3 separate regions of the Homo sapiens genome follow, and regions 2 and 3 are each linked to region 1. The links are contacts of gene promoters, found by promoter capture Hi-C in blood cells and fetal thymus (Javierre and others, 2016). All regions are on one chromosome and are shown on one strand. Each heading gives the region's core, a stretch centred on a gene start or on the middle of the fragment in contact. The rest is flanking DNA. Distances are from core to core; before and after follow the strand shown.

Evidence for each region. Contacts are between HindIII fragments. The CHiCAGO score rates a contact against its expected background, and 5 or more counts as called.
Region 2: a contact is called between a fragment that was not itself captured here and the fragment with the promoter of PLK2 in region 1, in 2 of 17 cell types (total B cells and naive B cells). The highest score is 24.2, in total B cells.
Region 3: a fragment that was not itself captured here is called in contact with the fragment with the promoter of PLK2 in region 1 in 1 of 17 cell types (total B cells); the score reaches 5.4 in total B cells.

What each region holds. Positions count from the first base shown.
Region 1 is chr5:58,458,836-58,463,335 of GRCh38, forward strand. PLK2 (polo like kinase 2) reads right to left here and starts at 1,251. Exons shown (of 14, transcript NM_006622.4): 1 at 855-1,251; 2 at 150-257; 3 at 1-6. The coding sequence starts at 1,124. RefSeq lists a silencer at 1,569-1,748. The HindIII fragment of the contact is 4,873 bases long and covers 1-2,590 here.
Region 2 is chr5:55,929,519-55,934,018 of GRCh38, forward strand. No RefSeq gene overlaps it. Among named protein-coding and RNA genes, the nearest start is that of IL6ST, 63 kb to the right of the region's middle. The HindIII fragment of the contact is 5,639 bases long and covers 1-4,500 here.
Region 3 is chr5:56,254,012-56,258,511 of GRCh38, forward strand. No RefSeq gene overlaps it. Among named protein-coding and RNA genes, the nearest start is that of ANKRD55, 23 kb to the left of the region's middle. RefSeq lists an enhancer at 3,608-4,115. The HindIII fragment of the contact is 8,279 bases long and covers 1-4,500 here.

The DNA.
Region 1 (4,500 bases), core at 1-2,500:
GTCAATCTAAATGAAAAAGCAAGGTAAGGCTTATTAGCTTCCAGTCACCTCGGAAAAGCCAGTGATTACACATGCAGAAGACATTTTCCTAACAGGGAAGGGCCATCCTTGCACACAAAGAAAATACTTTACTCAAGAGTCATACGCACCTTTTCCCTTTGATGAGGTTTAGCTACTCTGCTGTGAGGAATAATTTTTGCGGCGTAGACTTTGTTATTTGTCAAATCTGTCATCTCGTAACATTTTGCAAAGCCACCCTGAAAGGAAACAAAGCCGAGACGGAATTGAGGATGGCACAAAAATGGACGGCAGATATTTTAAATAAATAAATAAATGGGAAGAAAGAAAAGCAAAAAAAAAAAAATTGAGGAATGGAGGAGGGTGGACAGAGGGAGGCATTCGACTTCGTTAAAGCTCCCTCATGAAGAGAAATGCATTGCTGGAAACAGCAAGTTCAAACAGTTTCTCTTCTTCTTTTATAAAGGGGAGCTTTATGGAGGGAGTTGGAACGGGGAGACATGAAAAATAATCTCTGATGAGACTTGTCAGGAAAATTCCCTGGGAGCAGATAGAGGGAGAGAGGTCTGATGTAGAAAGCCCTCGCTTCCAGACTCAAGATGCATTTCTCTGGGCTGCGGGAGACACACAGTTCTGAGGCTAAGAATGCAAAGCCGATCCCCAGCGCTGCCGGCGCACAAAAGCCAGAGGGCAGGTGAGGAGCCCACCTCGCGCTGGGATCGGACCCCCGAAAAACCCGGAAGCGGCGGGCGAGGGACCCCGCGGGCTTGCCCGGCTTGGGGTCGCCCGGACAGACCTCCCGCCCGCCCGGCAGCCCGGCGCCCTCCGCTTGTCACCTTTCCCAGCACTTTGCCCCGGCAGTAGCGCTTCCCAGTCGTGGGGTCGACGATAATCCGCGAGATCTCCGGCCCCGAGTGCGAATGGTGGTGATGGTGGTGAGGGGCCGCCGGGGGCACTTGCGCCTGGGACTGAGGTGGCTGCGATTCCTCGGGGGGCTGCGGCGGCCGCTTCTTCTTCGAGTCCGCTCCGCAACCCTTGCCCAGCGCCTGCTCGCACATTTTGGTGCTGGCGGCTGGCTGGTAGGTGATAGTCCGCAAAAGCTCCATGGTCGCCTTGCCGCCCCGCACTGCCCGCTGCCACCCCCTAGGCGCGGTCACACGTCCGAGCCGGCCGTGGTCCTCGCACCCTTGCCTCTGGTGCCGACTAGCACCCAACACCCCGGTCCACTTGTGCGAGTGAGAGCGCTCGGCGAAGTCTTATATACGGGGAGGCGGGAAGGGGGCGGAGACTCGATACGCGACATCACGTCACGGCCTATGCCCCGCCCCACGGCCGGCCGAGCGCGCGTGGCCGGGAAGCAAGTCTTGTCCCGCCACCCGGGTCTCGCTTCCCAGCGGAGCCGCGCGCCTCAAACGCCGGCCGCCGAGATCTCTTGCGGCCGCGGGAAGGCCTTCAGAGCCGTCCGTGGGCCCCGCTGTCCCGTTCTTCGAAGGCTCCGAGCCTCAGCGTACAAAACAGAATCGCGAGGGCCGACGCCTGGCCTCACCCCCGCCCCAGCCGCCTGGTGGCAGGGCAGTGCCGTGACCCGAGCGAGTCGGGCGCGGGTGTAGACGCAGTCCCTCCCCCGCACAGCCCTTCCCGGCCGCCCGGGGCCTCCTGTGTCAAGGTATCAGGGTGCCCGGAGCCCGCCGCACGGGCAGGCGAGGCCTCCTCCGGCCGTATGACAGGGCTCGTCTGCAGCTGCCCCGCAGTGCCTGCCCGCGCTGTGACGAGCTCGCTGGTGTCTAGCTGGGGCAGTGCCGAGAGGCCGTGGGGGTGAAAGGCCGGGATTCGTGGAGCCGGGCATTCGAGCCCATCGCGCTAGGGCAGACACGGGCCCGCAGCCGGGATCCCGGGCCGATCGGCCAACCGTGCCAGGATCCCACTCGAGGCCCGTCTGGCCCCCGCCCATGCCCCTAGAGCGAGCCTCTGTCTGAGGTCGGCCCCTGAACCTTGCAGAGCGAGGTCGGCGTCCTGGCAAGGCGTCCTCCGCCCGTAGCCCGAAGATTGGAAAGCAAGGGCGCCATCTTGTGGAATGTTCCGGAATGCCGTTAGGTGTCGAAGTGGGCAGCGGTTGACAACCGTGGGCCTTTGACAGTTACTAGTACTAAACATCGATGCCGATTGTGAGTTTCCAATCAGAGTCATCTATGACTTCTTCCGAATGCATCTGTTGAGATGGCTCATGAGCTGCCCTGGTTCCTGGAGAGTCAATCTGAGACTTTCTGGGGTAGGGAGATTGGTAGGATGAAGAGAGGAGCGTAGGCCAGTGAGTGCAAACACAGCTTAGTTTCCCATTTCCAGATTTTGCTGTGCAGTTTGACTAATCTAGGAACACGTTTTTTTGTTTGTTTTTCTTGTTCTAATTACGATAGAGTAACATTTATTGAGGACTGTGCAGTATTTTTAAATGCCTTATTTCATCCTACAACAATTCTGAGAGAAATATTGTAAGGAAGGAAAAATAATTTTCCACCTTTCAAAGTTTTGGCCTGGGTCGCTGTAACCAGACAGATTAACAAGAAAACAAAGAAGCTTATTAACATATACGTCTCATATATACATGGGAGATAACCAGGAAAATTAGAGATGGTTTAAAATCGGGCTTAAATACTATCTTTAGCTAAACCAAAAGAAAAGAGTGGGGCAGGCAAGTTAAGGAATCATGACCAGGAAATGTACGGTAAACAGGAGTGGGGTTTCTTATTTCTTCATTGATAAGTTTTTCATGATTTAGAGTCATTCTTCCTGGTACAGAGGAGACACTTTTACAAATGGAGTTTTGTGGGGTTTTTTTGTTTTTTGTTTTTGTTGTTTTTTTTTTTAGTGAATGTACGTTTCCCTTACGAAAGGGTAATATGCCATTTTTAGAGCATTTCCTGGGTCTGCTGGTTCTCAAAATAATTATCTTAAAATAATCTTTATCCCAGGGCCATATTTGGGGTGGCATATTCTCATCTCCTACATTATTATTCCCATTTTATAGATGAGGCTTGGAGAACTTAGGTAATTATTGTATATTTTTACTAGATCATCGAGGTTAGGTTAATTAGCAGCACACTTGAATCTTTTTACCTATGTTAACAGGATATGGTAAATAGTTTTTTGAAGCTAAATTCCAGAGAAATTTAGAATACCAGATTATTGAATCCCTGGAAGGTACATACAAAAAGTTGCTGCAGTCCACTGTCAAATTTAGGTATGTGTGGTATCAACATTAATCGAACATTTACAAAAATACTGTGTCTCAAATACTTCCAGCATAATGTGGAAAAGAGGCTTATTGCCATTAGAGAGGAGAAAGGGAAAGGCTTTGCCATTAGCGAGGAGAAAGGGAAAGTCTTTGCTGTCACTTCCGTTTTTGATTCTTTAAAGAGTGCAGGGCAAGTCCAGGCATGTTTCTCATAAGTGACAATAGACTTTAACCCCAAGATTGTCAGGGATGGAATAAGGGGTGGGGCTTAGGGGTGGAAATTCAGAATTACGTAATTATCCTCTTTATTCATAAGCCCAGGGGTGACCTTTGCTTCCCAGATTTGTGCAAACCTACTCTCTAAGATGTAGAAGGCTTGCAGGTTTAGAAAATATTACTAGAATTTATCAAAGCTAGTTTACACACCATGTCTTTATGGTTGATAATAAACTGTATATGTATACATATGTGTGTATGTGTATGTGTATTCATTTGTGGCCTAAGATAAAAAACTGAAGAATAGATTGTCATGATTTTTTTTTAAATGTCAATTTCTTCTTTGATTAGCATACACTATGGTATGTATCTTTACCAAATGGACTTCAGTATTTGATAAACTGTTGAACATTCCATGTGAAATTCAGGTCTGTCTGCCACAACATGGAGGCATTTAATAAAATATTAACGCTGTGTAAATCTTATGTTGTCTTCTTTCCGACTGAGAACATGATTTTTTTGGGGTTGTGGTGCCATCATGTGGACAGAACCAAAATTGTAGTCTATAGAACAAAAAAGGAAATAAATGCGCTTTCTATTAAGTAGACTAATTACTAAATATCATGGAGTCAATTTGGTAACCAGTAGGAAGGAAAAAATGGATCCATGCTTCATATCTGGCTTATTTTCAAGCAAATGAAAGTTTGAAATACGTGAAATTTTAAGACAATATGAAAGAATTCTTTCATAGCCTGAATGTGGTAGAACTTTCAACTATTTACAAAATCTAGAATCCCTAAAAAAAAAAAAAAAGCAAGATTCATTAATGTAACTATATAGAAACAAAACCCTTTCATTGATTTAAAATAACAAAACACCACAAATAAAGTCAAAGGATAAATAACACTGGAAAAATTATTTTCAACTCATCACAGAGAAAGAGCTTATCTTCCTGTTATATAAAAACTCCTACAATTGGATAAAATACCAATTATCCAACAGAAAACAAATGGTTCTTACATTTGCTCAATTTC
Region 2 (4,500 bases), core at 1,138-3,637, 2.5 Mb before region 1:
TGCTGAAATAAAGGAGGAGGCAAGGAGGAGAAGCCGGGCAGGGGATTGTCTAGAATTGTCCAAAAAGAGGAAACGAGCTATTTCTCAGCTCTTTGCCTTTAGTGCTTGCCTGGAGATGCCATTGTTAGGGTCCCAGGCCAGTCCCACAATCTAGAAACCCTCCCTCCCCACATTTCATAGACACAGCCATAGTCGTGGCATGGACACTGCATGAGCCCCTGCAAGCAATGCACAGGCCTCCTCAGGAGGGGAGGTGCCACCTGGTTTCTGGAGCCTCAGGCCTCCCTCACCCTCCGCAGGATGCTTCTCCTTGGACATGATGTTCCCAGGCTTGGAAGCAGCTACCCTTCCTTCACCTCACAGGCTCATTGCCCCTCTCTTTCCCTGGAGCCTCCAGCTAACCAGTCGCCACGTCTGGCCGCGCTGCTCCTGAGCTGGCTTTGCTTTCCTATTTTTCTCCTGGCCTCAGCCCCCTTCAGACTTCACCCTGATGAGAAAAGTGCTCCTGAGTAGTGTCCTGTCTCAGGCTTACCCTCTCTTGTCCATTCCTCAAGTAGGTGTTACAATAATCTCAAAGACAAGAAAGAACTAGAATAGTCCCCATCTCATGGGATGAATGACGGAAAGCCCAGCTCCCCAGCTGGTGACATCATCACCAAGCAGGGCCTGGACTGGGGCAAGTCTAGGGCTCCCAACAGAAGGAGGTGCTCACTTTCGGGGTCACGCAAGGGCACCAAGTACCTCCCATGACTGTGTGCCCTGGGTACCTCTCTTATCTCACCCACTGTGTTTCTTACTCTTCTCTCTGCTACGGGAGGCCCTTTGACATCACCAGATTGTGACCTTTCATTTAGCATGGAATCAGTAGAAAATCTGACACCTGCAGAATTATCTGCACGAAGAAAGCCTCCTTGTTTGGAAATGGGGCTGGCTTACATTCACACATGACTCTATTGGAGAAGACAGAAACCTGTTTGATGTTGCCTTAAATGTAGTAAAAATGTTGTGGTTGGACTGGCACAGTGGCTCACAACTGTAATCTCAGCACTTTGGGAGGCCAAGGCAGGAGCATCACTTGAGGCCAGGATGTTGAGGCTAGCCTGGGCAACATAGTGACACTCCATCCCTACAAAACTTTTTTTAAAAAATTAGCCAGGTCTGGTGGCACACGTCTGTCATCCCAGTTGCTTTGGGGGCTGAGGCAGGAGGATTGCTCCAGCCCATGAATTCGAGGTTGCAGTTACCTAAGAGCGCATAACTGCACTCCAGCCTGGGCCACAGCATGAGATTGTGTTTCAAAAACACGGTGGTGATTAGACGTCTCTTTTGAACCTGCCTCAAGGTCAGAGGTGTATGATTAGGTGCCACCTTGGGCATTCCTTTCTGTCCTGGGAGTAGAAAAAGTGTAAGATTACCTCCCCACGAGCACTTGAGCATGGGTTGTAGATAAATCCATCTGTGTCCCTGCTGGGGCTGATGGAGATATGAGGACTGAGGGGTCCTCCTTGCTTGAAGTCACATCTTTGGCAAAGGGCTGGAAAGAGGGCAGGGAATATCTAGATGTTGCTCAGAGGGGTCAACAAAAATTCTTCCGGCCAGTCCTGAAATACAAGTCTCATTGTAACAATAAGAATTATAGTTTAGTCTGACCCAGAGAACTGAGGCAACATTGATTTGAAAACAGTTTGTGCACACTGCTGGCTCTCCTGGTCACCAGCTCATGCCTGCACGACAAAATTCTACAGAAGATGCTTTTCCTCCAGGAAGGCATCCCGATGAGCACAGCTTTTTGCCCGAACATAAAATGTTTTCTGAAAAATCTTTCCCCAAAAAAGAGGGAGTGCTTTAGTAAAGTACTTACAAAGTTTCTCATATCACAGTTTCTCTCTTCTTATTTATTTATTTATTATTTTTCTGAGACAGATTCTCGCCCTGTCACCCAGGCTGGAGTGCAGTGGCATGACCTTGGCTCACTGCAGCCTCCGCCTCCCGGGTTCAAGTGATTCTCCTGCCTCAGGCACCCAAGTAGCTGGGATTACAGGTGCCGCACCACCACGCCAGGCTAATTCTTGTATTTTTAGTAGAGACGGGGTTTCACCATGTTGGCCAGGCTGGTCTCAAATTCCTGACCTCAAGTGATCTGCCCACTTTGGCCTCCGAAAGTGCTGGGATTACAGGCGTGAGCCTCTGTGCTTGGCCTCTCTTCGTTATTTAAACACAAAAGTTCTGTTTGCGAAAGACCCATTCACTAAAATGACCTCATCCAATGTTAATTTTTAATTTTGAGAATCACACGGAGATCACCAGAAGGAACTGGCATAAAAGGAGACAAGGGATTTAGTCATTATTCCTGGGATATGATCTCAATATTAACTAGGTTAGATTTCAGTGTAAAGTTTTTTAAAGACCATTTTAAAAAGCAAAATGGTAACAGGTTACATTACTGGGATGGGGGGAAAGTCTCTTAAGATAAAAGTGGATACTTAAGGCTTGAATACTGTTTTCCACGACAGCATTGTCTGCTGTCTCTCACACAACTAGATGGAAATGTTAGGAACGAGCTCCCAAAACCTGTGCCTATGATTCACAAAGGGGATCTGGTAATGACGAGGAAGGACCTCAGTGTCCAATTGCAAGTGAAGAGTTGCATGGAACTATCTTCATAAAGTACGAGTGAACAAAATCAATTCTATATTTCTGCATTGTTCCACATCATCTTATTTAAAATATGGATCATAGGCAGACATCTGACTATTTAATCAACATCTGTAAAGCTCACACAGTTAAGCTGTCCAAAAACTTTTCTTGGGATCTTCTCGTTGAGGAATTGGGGGATTGTTTTATACTGGGAGCTGCCTGGTGTTTGGCCAGGGGTTGGTCGTAGCCTGGTTTGTAGGGCCTGAGCCTACTTGCACTTTCTGATGTGTTCTTAAGGCGGAGCCTGATCCTGGTTCACTCCGTCTTCCTCACTAGACAGTAACTTCCCAAAGGGCAGGGCCGTCCTTTTATAACCCACAAACCCAGCGTTTTCTCCTGTGCTGTTGGAAAGTTTGCTGGCCCCTCTTCTCTGGACCTCATTTTCCTCGTCCAGGATGAGGAGTTTGGATAAAATGATTTAATAAGGATCCATCTGACTTTAATTTTCTCTAAATTTTTGCTTTTGGATTGAGTATATATTTTGCTTCAAATGAAAGCTCTTGCCAAGGCACGGTGGTTCAGAGATGTAATCACAGCACTTTGGAAGGCCAAGGATGGAAGATAGCTTGAAGCCAGGCATTTGAGACCAGCCTGGCCAACAAAGTGAGCCCGTGTCTACAAAAAAGAAAAAAGAAAAATTAGCCGGGCATGGCAGTGCTGCCTGTAGTCTGAGCTACTTGAGAGGCTGAGGTGGGAGGATTGCTTGAGCCTGGGCAACAGAGCAAGACTCTCTCTCTCTTGGTTGGGGGAAGCTCTTGCCTGTAGCCAGGGTGGGATGGGAATCAGGAAATGATCCCAGGTTTGAGATGCGAAGGAGGCAGATTCCTGACTGCCTATGGCACTGTGCAACTCTGGATTAGAAGAAACCTGAGACACATTTTAAACATTTTTTAAAATTAAAAATAACTTGTTTATTCACCCACTTACCTGTTCATATAAGCAAGCTCTGCCAAACACCGAGCACTATGCTGGGCCAGGAGAGGACTGAGCTGGGGCCCTCTCTCCAGAGGCCCAGCAGTAGGTGCCAGGATATAGAAGGCCCTTAACTCAGGGGGAAGGAGAGAGAAGAATGGAAGATTTCCCTCAAGAGGGTATCTATTTGAGTTGATTTTTGGTGAACCAGTAAGAATTTCCCAGCTTAACAGGGACTGGGGACTGGAGAACATTCTAGGGGAGGAAATCATGTGCATGGGCTAGGTTAGAAGAAACTCAGTATGTTCTGGAAACTATAAAGTGTGCAGCTGGGGGGTTGGAAAGGTCCAGCGAGGCCCCAAAAGGACAGAAAGCAAATGTGGGGAATGAGGTCAGCACAGCGGGGCAGCAGCAGGCAGCCCCTCTGGGAGTGGCAGGAGATGGAGAGGAGTGGCTGGCGGCACCGTGAAGGTGAGGCAGGCTGGAACGGGTGCTCGCGCTAGGCAGCGGGCCCGGGGAAGTCTGTGGACAGAACCACCTGGGGTAGGACCGTGGTCTGAGCACCCAGGAAAAGCCCCTGCCGGAGATCCTCCTGTCACTAGTTGCCATGGGCTAGATTCCACCATTAGAGGAGTCTTTCTTTGGCCAAAAGAATGAGACTCCAGGGGTCGTGTGAGGGTGCATTCTCAGGAAAGTGGGACACATTGACCTCTTTTGCAGGGGTTGCTCTATAGGGTCAGAGCAAATGTATGTGCTAGTAGGGGTGGGGAGCCAGCCTCGGAGTAAACCTTGAGGGCATAAGGAGAAGTACTGCTCTGGGCTCGAGGCTCAGTTAGGACACTTCAAGGTAGGCAATTGCAGGGGGCTGCTTGAGGGCACAAGGTGCCCCAT
Region 3 (4,500 bases), core at 1,406-3,905, 2.2 Mb before region 1:
AGTTTAGTTCAACCCACTGGATAGCAGAGAAGTTCATTGCTGGTATGCTCAGACTGGTGCCGGTCAGCAGTCACTATGAAGCCACTTTTCAGAGTGCAGGTGGGATAACGTCATCAGTAACCAGTGGTATGAACATGCAGGGGTAGGAAAGTGCTTTAGGCTGCAGCGGGGCAGCACAGGGGCCTGCATAGGGTATCCAGGTGTCAGCATGTTCAGAAGGCCTTCGAGATGTTCGTTTCCATGTCAAGAGGGTCACAGAAATGTTATTGGCAGTCTGAGGCTATAAGGATTCTTGAGTTGTCTGAGTTTTCTGGGCCTAAGACTGGTGCAGACGTCTTCATACCCACACTACTGGCTCTCATGCTACAGTCGGAAACCTCAGGAGAGCCTCTTGTCTCCTGCAATGTCCCTGTAGTGCCTTCTTTAAAGGAGAAATGCTTAAAGGAATTCTATTATCTCAGAACATATATTGAAAAGTAAATTTGGAGCAGAGAGGCAATAAATTGATAATTAGTACCATCAGTTACCATTAAAGAAAAAGTATAAAGAATAATTTAAAAATATATTGATAAATATATTATTCTAAGTAATAATGGCAACCATCAAAAGTACTAAAATGATAAATTATTCACAATATTAACATGGAGGAAGTGAATTGAGAGTGAGAATAGAAAGACTTTTACTTTGTATTTTATTTCGTGCCTTTCTATATTATTTTTATTTTTTTGGTAGTTTTTATGAAAGAATGCATTATTTTCAATATCTGCATCCCCAAAGTCAGATAATCAAAAAATTAAACCTATTCACTAGTTAGATAGAAATAGTAAGCAATTTTCCAAATTATTATAAGAAAGAAAGAAGCAACAAAAATCCAGGAAAAATAAGAAACAGCAAAAAGAAACAACTATAAACCAAACAAATAAAAACAAAAACAGAATATCTGAATAAAAATAAACATAATAGTGTTCTCAAATAATGTAAATGGATTAAATTCCCCTATTAAGTATAAAAACTCCCAGAATGATTTTTAAAAAGCAAAATACAAATATATGATATTTTAGAAAACATGCTTAGAACAAAAGGCAGAATGTAATGAGAAAATTAGGCTAAAACCAAAGTGAGACAGAATGTAAGCTACCACAACTTTACAAGGTATGTGCCATCATTGTCCTCCATATCTGGTGAGGAAACTAAGACACAGCTACTGCGGCAGAACAGTGATTAAAACCCAGGTTTTCTGGCTCCTGAACCTGTGCTTGTAGCCATTATGCTAGATTGCAAAAATGGTCACAATTCTCAACCCCTGCAGCCTTATTTTTCCAGTTTCTTTGTAAGAAAGCAATTGCAAAACCACAGCTTTGAATATGAGAATGTGAATTCAGATGGATTTCAACAATTGTGAGCAGCCCTGTTTAATTCCAAGAGTAAGGTTTCTGTTATGACTTTTCACTTTTTGCACTAGGCTGGCAAGAGTGACTTAAATAACTGCAATAGAGAATCAAAATCCGTTCACTGCAAGATGAAAAACCTTAGCAGAAACCCCATTCCCCAAATTAAACAAGGCTGTTTATAATAATTGACACTTATTCTAATTCACTTTCTGGTATTCAGAGCTGTGGCTTTGTAATTGCTTTTTCAAGGGGAGATATTGGCATTTCTAGACTACAAAGCAGCACATGGTATCAAGATGTGTTTTGTTTCTCATGAATAATGATGCTGAACACCTTTCTCATTTGCATATTGATCATTTTCATATCCTCTTTTGTGGAGTGCTTGTTCAGGATTCTGGCTCAACATTAAAAATTGTGTTGTATATCTTTTTCTTATCAATTTATAGAACTTTTATACAAGAATATAGTCTAGATATAAATTCTTTGCCATATGTGTGTGTGCATGCAAATGTCTGAATAACAAATATTTTATACCAGTCTGAGGTTTGCTTTTTCCATTCTCTTAACCATGTCATTCATTGAACAGAATTTCTTTATTTTAATTAAATCCAATTTATCAGTATTTCCATGTGTTCTGTCTAAGAAACTATGGCCTAACCTGAGGTCCCTGAACATATTTACTGTGTTTTCTTCTAGAATTTTTATTGTTTTACTTTTCGTCTTTAGATATATGATCTACCTTGAATTAATTTTTGTGTATAATGTGAGGTAAGGGACAAGAGTCTTTTTTTCCCATATGAATATACACTTGAACCACCACCATTTATTGAAAAGATAATTCTTTCTCCACTGAGTTTCTGTGATGCCTTTATCATAAATCAGATTTATCATAAATCCTATGGATGTGGGTCTGTTTCTGAAGTCTAATTTATTCCATGATCTGTTGTCTTTTCTTGTTCCAGTACCATACTGTTTTAATTTCTCTAGCTTTGATATCAGGTTTTGTCTTTTTTCTTCAGTATTGCCTTAGCTATTCAGAGTTCTTTTTATTTCCATATCAATTTTACAAATAGCTTATCAATTTCTACCAAAAAAATTGATAGCATTTTTATTGGGATTGCATTGAATTTATATATCCATTTGGAATGACTTGATATCTTAAGACTGTTGCATCTTTGAATTCCATGTTCATGATATTACCTGTCATTTACTTAGATCTTCTTTTACTTCTCTCAGCAACTATCTGTAGTTTTCATCGTAGAGATCTTATACAACTTCTATCAGATTTATTCTACATAATTGATGTTTTTGGTGCTTTAAAAATTTTACCAATTGTTTGTCTCTTTTTAAAAATAGATTCATTTCCCCAATGAAATTCTCCAACCTTTCTTCCATTTTGTCTATCATTTTCTCCATTCTCTTGACCATATTAATCACAGTTATTTTAAACTCCCTGTCAGTTATTGTTAACATCTGATTCACCTATAAATCTATTTACTTTAAATAAATTTCTACTTGGATTTCCATAATTTGGTTCAAAGCCTGGACGGTTCAAAGCCTGGAACATTCGCCAAGGTTTTTCTATTTTGGAAAGGTTTTAATTATGACCTTTGCCTCCCTAGTACTGAAATCTCTGATCAGATCTTCAGCTATCCTCCTTCCCTCCCTCCCTGCCTCCCTTCCTTCATTCCTTCCTTCCTGTCTCCCTCCTTCCCTTCCTTCTCTCTTTCTTTCTTTCTCTTTCTTTCTTTATCTTTCTTTCTTTCTTTCTCTTTCTTTCTTCTTTCTTTCCTTTCTTTTCTCTTTCTCTCCTTTCTTTCTTTTCTCTCTCTCCTCCCCTCCCTCTCTCCCTCCCTTCTTTCCTTCCTTCTTTTCCTCTCTCCCTCCTCCCTCCCTTCCTCCCCCCTCTCTTTCTTTGTGTCTTTCTCTCCTTCTATTTCTTTATTTCTTGTTTCATATTTTGTGTGCCAGCTTAGGAACCCATAAACTTTAGGGAAATAAGTTTGCAGAATTGTAGGCACCTTTGTTGTTTCCCTTCTTCAGGACTTTCCTAAGTCCTGCCTGCTTTGGCAGCTCCAAATTCTTACTTCTACTTTCTCAGCCCACTAAGACTGTTGTATTTGTATATCCCTATTCTGCAGTGTGTACATGTCCTCAAGAGAATATCTGGAATGTATGTGGACCTCATGCCATAGGGTTTTCTTTAAATCTCGCTTGTGCTTGGTGTCTCCAGTGCCTTCAGGCAATTGCTTTATGTATTTTGTGCAACGTTTATAATTTTTTTTTAAATTTTTTTAGTATTTATTGATCATTCTTGGGTGTTTCTCGGAGAGGGGGATTTGGCAGGGTCATAGGACAATAGTGGAGGGAAGGTCAGCAGATAAACATGTGAACAAAGGTCTCTGGTTTTCCTAGGCAGAGGGCCCTGCCGCCTTCCGCAGTGTTTGTGTCCCTGGGTACTTGAGATTAGGGAGTGGTGATGACTCTTAACGAGCATGCTGCCTTCAAGCATCTGTTTAACAAAGCACATCTTGCACGGACCTTAATCCATTTAACCCTTAGTGGACATAGCACATGTTTCAGAGAGCACGGGGTTGGGGGTAAGGTTATAGATTAACAGCATCCCAAGGCAGAAGAATTTTTCTTAGTACAGAACAAAATGGAGTCTCCTATGTCTACTTCTTTCCACGCAGACACAGTAACAATCCGATCTCTCTTTCTTTTCCCCACACTTCCCCCCTTTCTATTTGACAAAACCGCCATCGTCATCATGGCCCGTTCTCAATGTGCTGTTGGGTAAACCTCCCAGACGGGGTGGCTGCCGGGCAGAGGGGCTCCTCACTTCCCAGACGGGGCGGCCGGGCAGAGGTGCTCCCCACATCCCAGACGATGGGCGGCCGGGCAGAAACGCTCCTCACTTCCTAGACGGGATGACGGCCGGGAAAAGGTGCTCCTCACTTCCCAGACTGGACGGCCAGGCAGAGGGGCTCCTCACATCCCAGATGATGGGCAGCCGGGCAGAGACGCTCCTCACTTCTTAGACAGGGTGGCGGCCGGGCAGAGGCTGCAATCTCGGCACTTTGGGAGGCCAAGGCAGTCGGCTGGGAGG